Linked DNA regions of Homo sapiens: region 2 is linked to region 1. The links are contacts of gene promoters, found by promoter capture Hi-C in blood cells and fetal thymus (Javierre and others, 2016). All regions are on one chromosome and are shown on one strand. Each heading gives the region's core, a stretch centred on a gene start or on the middle of the fragment in contact. The rest is flanking DNA. Distances are from core to core; before and after follow the strand shown.

Region 1 (6,348 bases), core at 3,358-5,857:
ATGAGACTTGGAGATTATGTGAGGAATTCAATGAACTTGGTACCTCATGTGCTTGGTACAATAATAATAATAATAACCAATATTTATTGAAGGTTTATCTTGTGGCAAATACTGGTTCTAAGTGTTTTCCCTGTATTAACTAACAACAATCTCATATGGTAGGCAGTATTGTCATTTTACAGCTGAGGAAACTGAGGCATAAAGAGACATGGCAACATTTCCAAGTCGTATGATTGGTAAGTTCAAACCTAGTCAGTCCAACTCCACGGCCCAGGCTCTTAGCCACTACTGCATTCTCCCAATACAGTAGTCTAAGAGCGTCTAAGGGAAGCTCAAAGGACATATCAGAGAACTCTGCCTCAGGATATACACAGGAGTTCATCTTCTCCTCTCTGGGGCCTTTATGACATGAAAATGAATGGGATTTCAGCATAACAAGGGGGATCCTGTGCTCTACTCTGCTCAGAACAGTCAGTGTGGGCCTGTTGTCCCAATGCCCACCAGCATCTCCTTTCACGCCACACGGTTCCAGTTTGGATAATAAGTTACATATTCACCTAAGTCCAGTGGCTAAGAAGTTATGTTCTGAAGTTTGCTGGGTCTATAGTCAAAACCCAGCTTAGCCACCTACTAGCTGTGGGAGTTGAGGCCAATTACTTTGTCTCAATAAGCCTCAATTTTCTCATCTACTAAATGGAAATAATAATAGTCCCCACTTCATAGCATTGTTATGAAAATTCTAGGAGCCAACACATATGAATCAATTTGTATAATCCTTAGCAAATTGTGGGCACCCAATAAAAATTCATTTTTATCAACATTAGATTAAATGTTTGAGAAGGTTTCTTACATTGGCATAACTGTGGTGGACTGCTTTATAAACTTGAGACATCAAAGCATACCTGTGAATCTGGAGCACTTAGACAAGAACCACCATCAGTAGGGAATGTCCAATTTTTCTAAGTAAATCACTGGTACTTCCAGGGGTATCCATTTTAAAATGAAATTATAATGCTAAAGCCATTGGAAATGCAGTTGGGTCTCAGCCACTCCCAGGGATTTTAATCCATTCCATTCTAGGCTCCCTGGGAACCTCACTGAAATGCTAAATTTCATGGTAACATGGAGAAAGTTAAGTATCCTTTCAGCTTATAATCTCTTTGGGGTACATTTTAGCCTCTTGGGCCAATCTGGATTCAAAGTTGTAACTTCTGGCATCATTCTGCATTCAAACATAAGCCACTGACTCACTGTACTTTGTATTCGAGCCCTGGAATAGCTTTAATATTCAGAGAATATCCTTTATATGGCATGGGCATGACCGCAGACCAGTCCTTTTGCTGGCAACTGCAGTAACTGGCTACATGTGTTAGAACCTGCCAAAATGTTTGTCACCCAAGACGGGAGAATCTTGAAAGACAGACTCAATAGATCATAGTCAGGGGCTTGATAAAACCACACAGCTAGTTAGTATACATACTGAACAAATCACCAATTTTTGCTCATTCTTTTTATTTGTTAAATAAAGAGGTTAAATCCATTGAAAAAAAAAGGGGGGGTTAAACCTAACATGGTCTGGCTCTGCGCGGCTTAAGAAGATTCCATCTGCTCAAGAACGATAACCCGCTTCCCCCTTACTTTTAAAAACTTCTACTTCCTCCCATAGTAACCTATTTAATAGTATGCCTGACTGTCAGCAAGTTCTTTGCCTCCAGCCTAGCTTCCTCTCCTCATCATGCAAATTGCCGTTGGCTTTAATTAGATTTAATAAGCCACTGGGAAGTGAAGCGAGGGAAATGGAGAGCAAAGATTATACAGTATGGGCTTACTCTTGCATGTCCAATACAGCATTTCCCTGGAACTCTCATATCCTCCCAGGCTGGGAAAATAAAGAATGCCAAGCGCATGGAAAGACACGCTGCTGCTGCTGCTGTCCAAATGTGAACCGTGGGTGGAGAAAAATCATTTAGAAAAAGAGAGTGAGGGAAAAAAGAAAATGAACCAGAATCCCCAACAGCTGCAAATAACGAAGCATGTGAATCTGTTACCTTGGATGAACTCTGCTTTCCTGCTCACAGACGGCAGGGTCCTGTTGAGCCCCAGGATCCTGTCTAGGTGGAAGGCAAACACCTCACTCATGTCCAAGGGCTGCTTGAGAAGCCCACAGGGGCTAGGGCCACAGCGGAGCACAGCGCCAGGTGCGCCCCCCTCCAGCACCAGCAAACGGGCTCCGCTCCTAGAGGACACAGGCCGGAGCCCTGCCACTGCGCTGTCCGCCAAGAGTCGCATTCTTCGGATGTCATCTTTGCTCAGCCAGGAGGGGGCGCTCTCGCTGTAGATCCTAATGTTGCTCTCCCTGGAGCTGGGCTGCAGGAAGTCTGGGCCCCCGGCTCGCACTCCCGGACCCCGCACCAACCTCCAGGGTCGCTCTCCAATCTTAACCAGGTTTGCTCCCTGAGCGTACCCAGGTGCTACAGCATCAGCTTCCCTTGCCGCTTCCTGCGGCTGAAGGGATGGTCCGACCAAAGCCTCCTGCCCTGGGGCAGCCGATGCCACTGCATGCTTTTTCCTGCGCTTGGGCTTCACGGTGCCACGGATATTGGCCGGCTTGCTGCGCTTGGAGCGTAGGGTAATGTACACCACATTGGGCTGCAGAGTGGACCCATTGCCCTGGGACTCTGGAGGGGCCAGGGTACCATCCAGGGGTATCTCAGGGAAGGATGGCTCGGCGGTGTCGCGGCTGCGATGTGGCCCCTTCTCAGCCGCCTGTCCATGCTGGAGAGAGGCCCTCCCCACCTGGCTCACCAGGAAGCCCAAGTAGATGGCACACGCAGTGCCCAGCAGAAGGTTTCTCCGGGTCCTTGGACGCCGGCTGCTCCAGAGCTTACGCACCCGCGGGACGCACAGGGAGCAGATGAACCAGTTTATGAGCTGCCCCGGCTTGTCTGGACAGGTCATTTCTCTGCCGCATCCACATGTTGAACGGAGTTTAAAGTCTGCAGTTGGCTCCTGCTAATGTGATGCATGGTTTCCTGACTTCAGCTGCCGCGTCCGCTTCGGGATATAAGTGGTCTCCAGTGGGCAGAGGTGGAAGGAAAGGGTTGGTGATGAAGCTGGGAATGTTTCTGACACAACAAACCTTTTAAATTATCAGTCTCCCCAAGGAGAAATGCGGCTTGTTTCTGGGAATGAATGGATACAGAGTTAACTGAGTCACAATTTCAAACCATTTAAGTTCCTCTACAAGAGTCAAGAAAAAAAGTAATCATTTCCTTTCATAAATATCACCACTAAATGTTTTTAAAAATAAAATTTAAAAGCATGCAAACGAGATAGATGTATAGATTTGATAGTCACTTGAAAGTAGTGAAAACAAGCCACAAAAATCCAAGAGTGTTTTATAACTTGTACCTAGAGTCATTTAAGTTGACTCTGAAGCAAAAGCGTTAAAATGTGACAAACCTGGGCTTTTCCTTTTTGAAATTCAGAAAGAACTTAAGACAAGTAATAGATAATTTTTTAATACTCTATACCTATACCATTTTTATTTTTTAAAGTCCTGAATTAACTAAGTACAAGCAGCAAGTATTAACAATAAAATTTAGAAACATATTCTCTTAGTCTAAAGGTACAAATTGTACTTCATATTAATAATATGTTCCATTAGCTTACATTGTTAGTATAATACAAAGCCATAAATGTCCATATATCTTGGAAGCAGTTGCATTTATTCTGTTTCTCTCTCTCTCTCTCTTTCTCTCTCTCTCACACACATACACACACACAACACAACACAACTCTGACTGCTTTTTATTTCTTTTCTTTCCACCGAAGTCAGCTGAAAGAAAATAAAAGCATCTCTAGTTCTGTTTTTTCACTATTAAAAAGAAAAAGAAGAAACTCGTAAGCAACCTTACTTACACAGCTGGCCCCATGCTTGGCTCCAGGAAGAATGTAATCCTTGACTCTAATGCAAAGAACTTTTAAAGGCTGAGGCATGTAAGTAGAACATATTTCATGGTCAAGAGTGTTCCACATTTCAAACATTTCAGTTCAGCTTTAAAAGCTCCCTTGAAAACTACTGATTGCAAAGCAAAACTTGGAAACTGACTGCTGCATGGTTTTAAGAGATACAAAGCTTTTAAAAACAATAGTTAACAAAATAAACTTTAATTTTAAATTCGGAAAAAAGAAATGCCGTAGAGAATCAGTTTTCATTCAAATAAATTTCCACTTATTTTTAACCCCTGGGAGCCCTCTAGTGTCCTGTTCGCAAACAGACTCAGAAATGTCAGTCTCATGAAGTTCAAAAGATCGAGAATGTTTGCTATCTTGGTGGAGCAGCCGCAGCCAAGCAAGTAACTTGTAAAATGAGGAATGCCATCACCCCTCGAGTGTCCATCCCACATAACTTGGGGTTAGAGCACAAGCGTTCCCAGGAACTACTCACCTTACCATCTTGGCCGTTTCATTTGTCTTCCACCAGTTCTGGAAAGAGAAGGCCTAGAAGTTCAGAAAAAAAGGTAAGAAAGAGTTAATATAAATGAGGAGAAAAAATAGAACAGTGAGATAAGAGTACACACAGATAAGGAAAGACATTTATAGTGTGCAATTGCACGGTGCAACAGTTCACAAAAGGAAGTCGTGGATTCTCTCTGATTGGAGGTTTTTTGAAAAAACAGGTTAGGGATTGGCCTGGGTGGTTTGCGTGTCCTAGCACAAAGGCAGGGGCTGATGACCTTGGGGTGTCAATTAGACTATGGCAAATAGAATCAAAAGGCAAGAAGACAGAAAGGGGACAGGGATTTTTCCTCCCCACAGAGAAAGAAAGTTGTGATACTGAAGAGTGGGTAAAAGATTAGCATATGGTGTATAATCCTAAAAATACTATATTTTACAATGCAAAAAGAGCAAGGAGTTGGAATATATAGGGAAGGAGAGAATAAACGTCCAAGTGGTAAATTGACAAAAATTATAATCGGGCTGTTATTTCAGCACTCTAAACTCAGTCCTTTTTTCCTCTTTAAAAGTCCTGCCACATGGAGGAATGAGAAGGAGCAATCCCAATATTGACAGTAGCCTGGAAGTACCTGGATATTTTGGCTAAACTTTGTGAGAATTCAGGCATCAAAACAATTTTATCTGCACTCAAAAACTCTTAGGCACACACTTCCATACACACAGAATTATTTTCTTGATAGAAAATGTGAACTTCTTGCAAGGAAACCATACCAAAGCTGCATTTTATAACCATCTTATTATTTCCACAGTCAAAGGAATAACTGACCTGGCTCTATAACAATTAAAAGTAAGCCTTTGGCAGAGGCCAGTTATAATAAGCAGACATCTCCTCTAGCTGTTTTTAGAGCTATTTTTTTCATGGAGAAATGCCTACGAGATAGGGAGAGTTGTGTGAGTTAGTAAATTTCGTTGACTACCTTCCCACCCCCACTCCAAAAATGTCTCCTAGAAAAAGAACAATACACTGTCCCCTGCTATAGCCACAATAGGGATTCGTGGAGGCTACACTATCTACTCTGAACTATGATATTCAGAGAATGGGCTGAAGAGGGAGGCAGACTGGCTTTAAATTCTCCTCATTTACCTCTTACGTGTGGTCCCCTGTGGCAAGTAATCTTACCTCTCTAAGCCTCAGTTTCCCCCATGTGTAAGAAAAGAAAAATAATAGCACTTACCCTATCGGTTTCTTCTGATGACTGAATGAGATAGCAGCCTTGGAATGATCATTTGAAATATTCAGCAATGTGTTTGTTTTTATCCCCCATGATGCCTCATTAAACTGCTCAGAGGCCTCTCTCCTCAGCCCAGGCCTTGACAGATAGTCACCACTGCACCACAGCAAAGCAATCATGGTAGAATTGAGGACAAGCACACTGAATTATTTGTAGCCAACATATTGATATAGCCAATACAGTGGATAAATGGGGCTTGTCAGATATAATCAGAGCACAATTTTAGTGATTCCCCCCACTGCCCATTGAAACCTGTTCTGTGGCCTGATATCTCTTTTCAACTTTCTTAAATGGAAACTCAGGCAGTCCCCATGACTTTTCCAGTCATACTTAAATTTTTGTAAAAGTTCTCCAGTTGTTAGCCATAGACATACAGACACATAATACACATAAACTAATTAATATGTTTGATTCTATATCACAGTCAATTTCTTTAAAAATTTCTTTTAAATTCCCAGAATTTCTCCAGAAGATAGCAGTCCCTCAAAAAGCATAGCCAAAATCTACTGAAAAGGGACAGAGGAGACCCATCTTACATTCTTTTTTGTTCCTGCCTAGAGCTCTTATTCCTTAACCACTCACCCAGCCGCTCACC
Region 2 (6,039 bases), core at 3,354-5,853, 1.2 Mb before region 1:
CAGAATGAGGCAAAAATAATAGCTTTGGTTTCACAGCATATGGTAAACAGAAATATAAAAAGTATAACTTAGGAAAAGCAACCAACCCACTTTAACGTATACTATATATTATTTCATCCAAGATGATTTCATTTATCAATAAAAATTATAAACAAGCATGCTATAGTGAGGTTTCCACCTTTGTGATGAAAAATGGCCTTGGTATTATTTTATTTAATGAGCATGGCATTAGAAATTATACAGGATTTTAAACAACAACCCCTTTTCTGAGGTAATAGTGAGCTCAAATTTGCCTAGGTCCCCGAAGGAAGAGCTACTGTCTTTTCTCCAGAGTTTATCTATTTATCATCAAGACCACAGGAACAGAAAGACACGTCATGATGAGACAGACAGAGCCCGGGACTGAGAGTTGGACTTGTGTTCTAGTCTTGCTGCCAACAACATACATGACTAAGATAATGACTTCACCTCCTAGAAAATGACCTCACTTAGACCAGAAGGAGAGGGCTAGGCAACACAGTATCTCAATCACTCCCAGTTCATGTTTTCATATGTGTTAAGACTTTCTTGCCCTTGAAAATTTCCAGACCAAAAGCAGTAAGAAGACATCACCCAGTTTACTTAGGAATGCTTGAAATAATTTTTAATGTTACTTCAGGGAAAAAGAAGCAGGAGCAGAGAAATCTCAGTTGCAGTGTTAAGAAGGCTGGAAGCAGAAATGGGAATCTCTCTGCTCAGCTAGCCTAGTAAAGCAGTGTTAATGAGTCAACATTACAAACCTCAAATGACATAAAGAAGGGAGGTCAGCAGAATGGACCAAAGAGATCGCCCTCTCATCTGCTGGGATTCTAGCTCCTAAGAAGTAAACAAGATAAAAGACTAAAAGGGGTAAAAGCAGGAACGCACACAAGCCCTCTGCCCAGCCATCTCTTATTCAGGATCTGTGTGTATGAACAGCTGTGGTTCTGTAACCCTCTGCTATGGATGGACTAGCTGCAGGTTACACAGAGGGTTACTTTGGCACTTATTTCCCTACTCAAAAGACTCCACATTTACTTTTCTACTCAAAACTCTCTTTTAATTTAAAGTTCTCCCCTGACATGGCCTAGCTAATGCACTTTCAGGGGTTCTAGACTCTGCAGACAGTAGTTTTCATTTGAAACATGGAATTAAACTAAGTAAACATCAAAATGAAGGATGACAATGAAAGACAGGACAACAAGAAAAACTGAAATTCAGGAAATAAAACTGTGTGGTTTTGTTTCCTTGTTTATTTATTTGTTGCTTAGTTCCTTATTTATGTGTAGATAAATTAATGAGAGGTGGTATCACAAAACAACTGCCTTAGTTGAGGTATAACAGCAAAAAGAGGTCTAAGAAACGAGATTGTCACTATCAGCCTTTTCCCCTCAATCCTTTAAACTGAATCCTTGATTCAGTTTAGTGTCATAAGCACAATCTGCAGTGTTTCTTCCAAAAACTAAATAATATTTCCTAGGACAAAATATTCTACATTGACTATGATGTCCATATACTGTGGAGAGTGTGAATGTGCAGCCTTAGGGTAAAAGCAAAGTAGCAATAAAATCAGAAACTGCCTGACTTCAATAAGAGACAGGTTCTGGTATGGTTGACGGACATTCTATGCCTAGAAAGGGAAATTAATTTACAGTTTCTCGATCTGCTAGTCTCAATAAGTGTGAATAGCAAGTCTCTACGGTCTACACACACACTGTGGATGGTGTGCCATAGAATGCAGCTGCAAAGCAGGGATTTTCTTTCCATGTTTTTTATCTCACACACTTGTCTATAAATGAAGTCCATGGTGTGCAACCTAATGGCATTTTCCAGATGTTTCCAACAAGTGTACTAAAAAAAAAAAAAACCTCCCAGAATATTGTCTTGATCTTCAAGGCTCAAGAGGGGATGTACAGCTAAAAAAAAAAAAAAAAGGAAAAGACGAAAACCCCATATGGTGCCAAATGTTGGCAGCTATCTTCTTTCTTCCCAGACAAAACTCTTAGGTCTTGTGAAAACAACATTTCTTATAAACTGCCAAAAACAACATAGATAATTGTTGTGATGGCTCTCCTGCACCGACTGCTGCGGCCGCTTTGACTATATCCACATCGAGCTCTGGGATAAAATTAAGAGCCAATTTTAAATCTTAAGCCTGAAGGGCCACCTTTAAGAATGCCACCTCCTAGGCTTCTAAAAAAAGTCTTGGCATATTAAGGTGCTTTCCGTTACAATAGGAGAAAATGCTATTTGTATTTGCCTTCCCTGAACCCTCTGTTTAAATTAGGTTTAAGGAATTAGCACAGCATTGTTTCTAATATAGTAGTAATATAAGCTTACTATAGGAAATTTGGAAAATACTATGTATTTTAGAAAGGAAAGTACCAACACCCCCACCGCTGCCCTACAGCCTTTATAGATGAAATACTTACAACATTTTAGTGTATTTCATTCTAGTTCCTCTACATACATAGAAATATTTATGGGGGCATACATAAAAATATTTAAAATCTTATTCTCACCCTGCTTTTTCACTTAACATTAGAGTGTGAGCATTTCTCTGTGGAGGCAGCATTTTGATCATTGCCCCGTATCCCCTGAGTAATGACAGCTCTGTGTAATTCACAGCATTTCTCATGGGAGGTTTATTGCTCTACTGGCTAGCCAAGGGACCAGTGTGAAATTCACCGAGGTCCTGTGCTGCTGAAATATGAGAAAGGTGAGAAAGGATTATAGCGCAGGAGAGTGGAAGCCCAAATGTCCATCTCTGAAAACATCCAGTTCCTTGGTGATTTCTTCAAGAAAAGAGAGACTATCTCTTTTGTTAAGAACCAAAAAGAGATAAATTTACTCACCAACGGTCTCCTACTATTAAGAATTCTTTGAAAGATTCATGATTATTCTTTTAAATACTCAAAGCATTTAAATATGTGTATAATATAGAAATGAGCCATTTATTCTGAATAACAGAGAGAAGTTGAAAAGTATTTATTACCTTCTGCCTAAGGGGGTGATCTCCTTGATTAACGTGCAAAGTAATGGGGAAAAAGTCTAATGTGTACTTTTTTTTTTATTTCTTTCAGAGCATTAACCCCATTCTAGTTGGTCATTAAAAAGTAGTATGTGTGTGTGTCTCTCTCTCTTTCTCTCTCGCTCTTTCTCTCTCTCTCTCTTGCTCACACACTGTCTGTGCTGCAATATTTCTTTATAACAAACTGGCCTCAGGAAATTATTAATGAAGGGTTAAGAGGTTACACAGCAGCTAAGCCCAGAAGAATGTCTGTGCAAAGAGAGAACTACCTATTCAGAAGGGAGGAGAATTGTTTGGGGAGGACTGGTAGTTTGAAAAGGAATTTCTTCCTAGCCAAGAAATTTTCTACACTGTGCAAAGCCAAAATAAAATGAGTCATAGCACTTCACATTTCCTAAGTGTGTATTACTAGAATGACTTTTGACTTTCTATGGAAATCAAAGACTGCACAAATGAGAAAACAGAACTGTTTCCCCTTCCCCTACGTCCCCTTGAGGACATACCTGAGATGATATAGGGTCAGTCCTGGCAGAAGCTGTTAAGAATTGGGTCACATATATTTGTAACTTACAGCTTTACCTTCAGGAAAACAAGCAGTAAGCATAACAGGAAATAAAAATAGCTTCACTCAAAGGTACATAAGCAACAGCATGTCCAACAACCACCAGCACTACCTATGACATTTTTCCTAGGCTATATATGCTATCAGAAACAGTCATATGTTTTAATCAATGATTATGAAGGGGTCTCGAGTATGACACCCTAAAATATGCCTTTCTGGCATAAGGATTATTTTGAGCTGAAGACAAGTAAGAATAAACAGATTTGGGAAAAGTTCTCCGTTCTCCAGTTATCTGCCGAAAAGTAGTACATAAATTTTCCTTTTTGAAGATGACATAAATGCCCCCTTTCCCTCCATTCCAGGATGAGGAAAGTGACCCTTAGCACAGACAAACAGCTGGCGCTGGAATGAGACTGTATATGCAGACTTAACTAAAATAACCTTACTAAAATAACATTATCTGTTATGATTAGATAATAATATTAGTTTCCCCATGTTTTTTGGTCACTTTCCCAAACTTCATTGGCGCTAGAAGCTCAAATCCCCTTTCCATTGTCTAGTCACTCCTCCACAATTTATCACCATTCATTAAAACGGTATAGAAAATCCCAAGTCTAACTGCTTTTTAAGATTTTCACATCCTTACTTTGAAGCCCTTATGCACACAAAATTTAAAATATTAATAAAATTAATATGCCTTTTCTCCTGTTACTCTGTCTTTTGTCAGTTTAATTTGTAGTTTAACTTCTAAACCTAAGAGGTAGAAGAAAAGTTCTTTTTTTTTCCTCTCCACTATAGTTCAATAAGCAATTTGAAAGCAGTGTTAAATCAGAAAAAAAATCTATTTATACCCACAAATACACAGAACTTCCAAATGTTTATAATTGTTGAATTGCTAAATGACTACAAATTTATGAAATAAATAAGAAAAAAATTCTAGAAATTGGCAAAAAGAGCAAAAGTAAAATGACAATTGATATAACAGACAAAATCAGCAGTTCACATTTTTCTTCATGTAAAAATTCACTTATTGAATCTTTCAATTTCAGAGTAACTACCAAGCCCTGATCTAGGCGCTATGGATATGACAGTTTATAACCTAAACAAGGAGAAAGGAAAATATATACTTCTCTTTCACCTCACTGTATTTTTATCTCCAGAGGTAGATGCTTCTTACACCCTTCTCTTCATTCACTAAACAAATAATGTTAAGAGTACCTACTGCCTGCCAGGCAAGGTTCTAGATCCTGAAGATAAAGCAGTAGGAGAAAATAAATAAACCTCCAATAACAACAACTAAAATTTCAGGCTTCATGTATCTTACATTCCAGTGACTTAATAAAACAACGCTCGTGATCACAACAGTGTTTAAATTTATTCAATCAGATTTCATTGTGAGGCTTCATTCTCTCTATAATCAATGCAGGCAAATAGTTTAAAGAAAATTCATAATATACATGTTCCTGTATTTATATATAATTGCTTGTAAATATGCCAGGATCAATTTTTTTAATTTTTGAAACCATTATTGACCATATAAGTTGTGATTGTGGAGTTTTAATATTTTTGTTTCTTACTGAATGGTCTGTTGGCAAAGGCAGGTCTCCCCTTTGAGACTGACGCATGGGGCAGAAATTAACCAGGATTTCTGAGTGGTTTCATTTTCAAGGTCACAATATAAATTTATCAAACACAATTCAAATGGTGTATGACAATGAAAAGAGGGCATCCTCTGTCTCTCTTCCAGAGCCAGTCTTAATTTTGTGATACTATTCTGGACAGAGAAAGGTCCTTCTTAATTTAGCTAAAATCTGAGCCTGAATATCCACTCTACCTTATAGAAAAAAAAAAAAAAACAAAAAACCCTCGTTTTCTTTGAAAGACTTCATTGCACAAGGGATCAAGTTAAGTCTTTCCTAAACTCACAGATACAATCAGCCTCCAATATGCTCCACATACACAAACTCTGAGCCATTTCAAGCATAAATTTTAGAAGTAAAGAAAGTTCCAGTGAATGCCTAAATAGATAGGAAAAAAGAGTATTCTTCTTCCAAGAACACTTTTCTGATTCAAACTTTCTTCCCCAAAATTAGGGCAGTGACAACCATTAGTCATATTAGCTTATTTGGGATATAAACTGTTTTAATATGTACACTAAAACAAAACAAAATGTGTCCTCTTTATAGCATAAGACACAATATATTTAGGCAAAGGAATGCATCTGCTGGATTTTAAAATACTAGTGTTTCAAATAATCAAAACTGTATTTCTAGACCTTTTGCTACATACCTGATTCTACCAATATCCTCTTTGTGCTTAAAGAAGTCATGAAACAGTCAGAAACAAAGAATTTCAAGTCACAAACTAATGATGGAATTAACCTAAATTATAGATTAGCTATTACACACTGGCATTCAATGATACTGCC

Evidence for each region. Contacts are between HindIII fragments. The CHiCAGO score rates a contact against its expected background, and 5 or more counts as called.
Region 2: a fragment that was not itself captured here is called in contact with the fragment with the promoter of GASK1B in region 1 in 1 of 17 cell types (M0 macrophages); the score reaches 5.2 in M0 macrophages.

What each region holds. Positions count from the first base shown.
Region 1 is chr4:158,168,418-158,174,765 of GRCh38, forward strand. It overlaps GASK1B (golgi associated kinase 1B), which reads right to left and starts at 4,608. Exons shown (of 5, transcript NM_001128424.2): 1 at 4,451-4,608; 2 at 2,049-3,182. The coding sequence starts at 2,958. GASK1B-AS1 (GASK1B antisense RNA 1) reads left to right here and starts at 2,335. Exons shown (of 5, transcript NR_147410.1): 1 at 2,335-3,063. LOC101928007 (a long non-coding RNA gene) reads right to left here. Exons shown (of 4, transcript XR_007058350.1): 3 at 5,697-5,849; 4 at 5,271-5,391. RefSeq lists enhancers at 2,091-2,611, 2,785-3,984. The HindIII fragment of the contact is 3,483 bases long and covers 4,137-6,348 here.
Region 2 is chr4:156,946,280-156,952,318 of GRCh38, forward strand. All of the region lies in intron 1 of PDGFC (platelet derived growth factor C), which reads right to left. Among named protein-coding and RNA genes, the nearest start is that of PDGFC, 22 kb to the right of the region's middle. The HindIII fragment of the contact is 4,504 bases long and covers 2,352-6,039 here.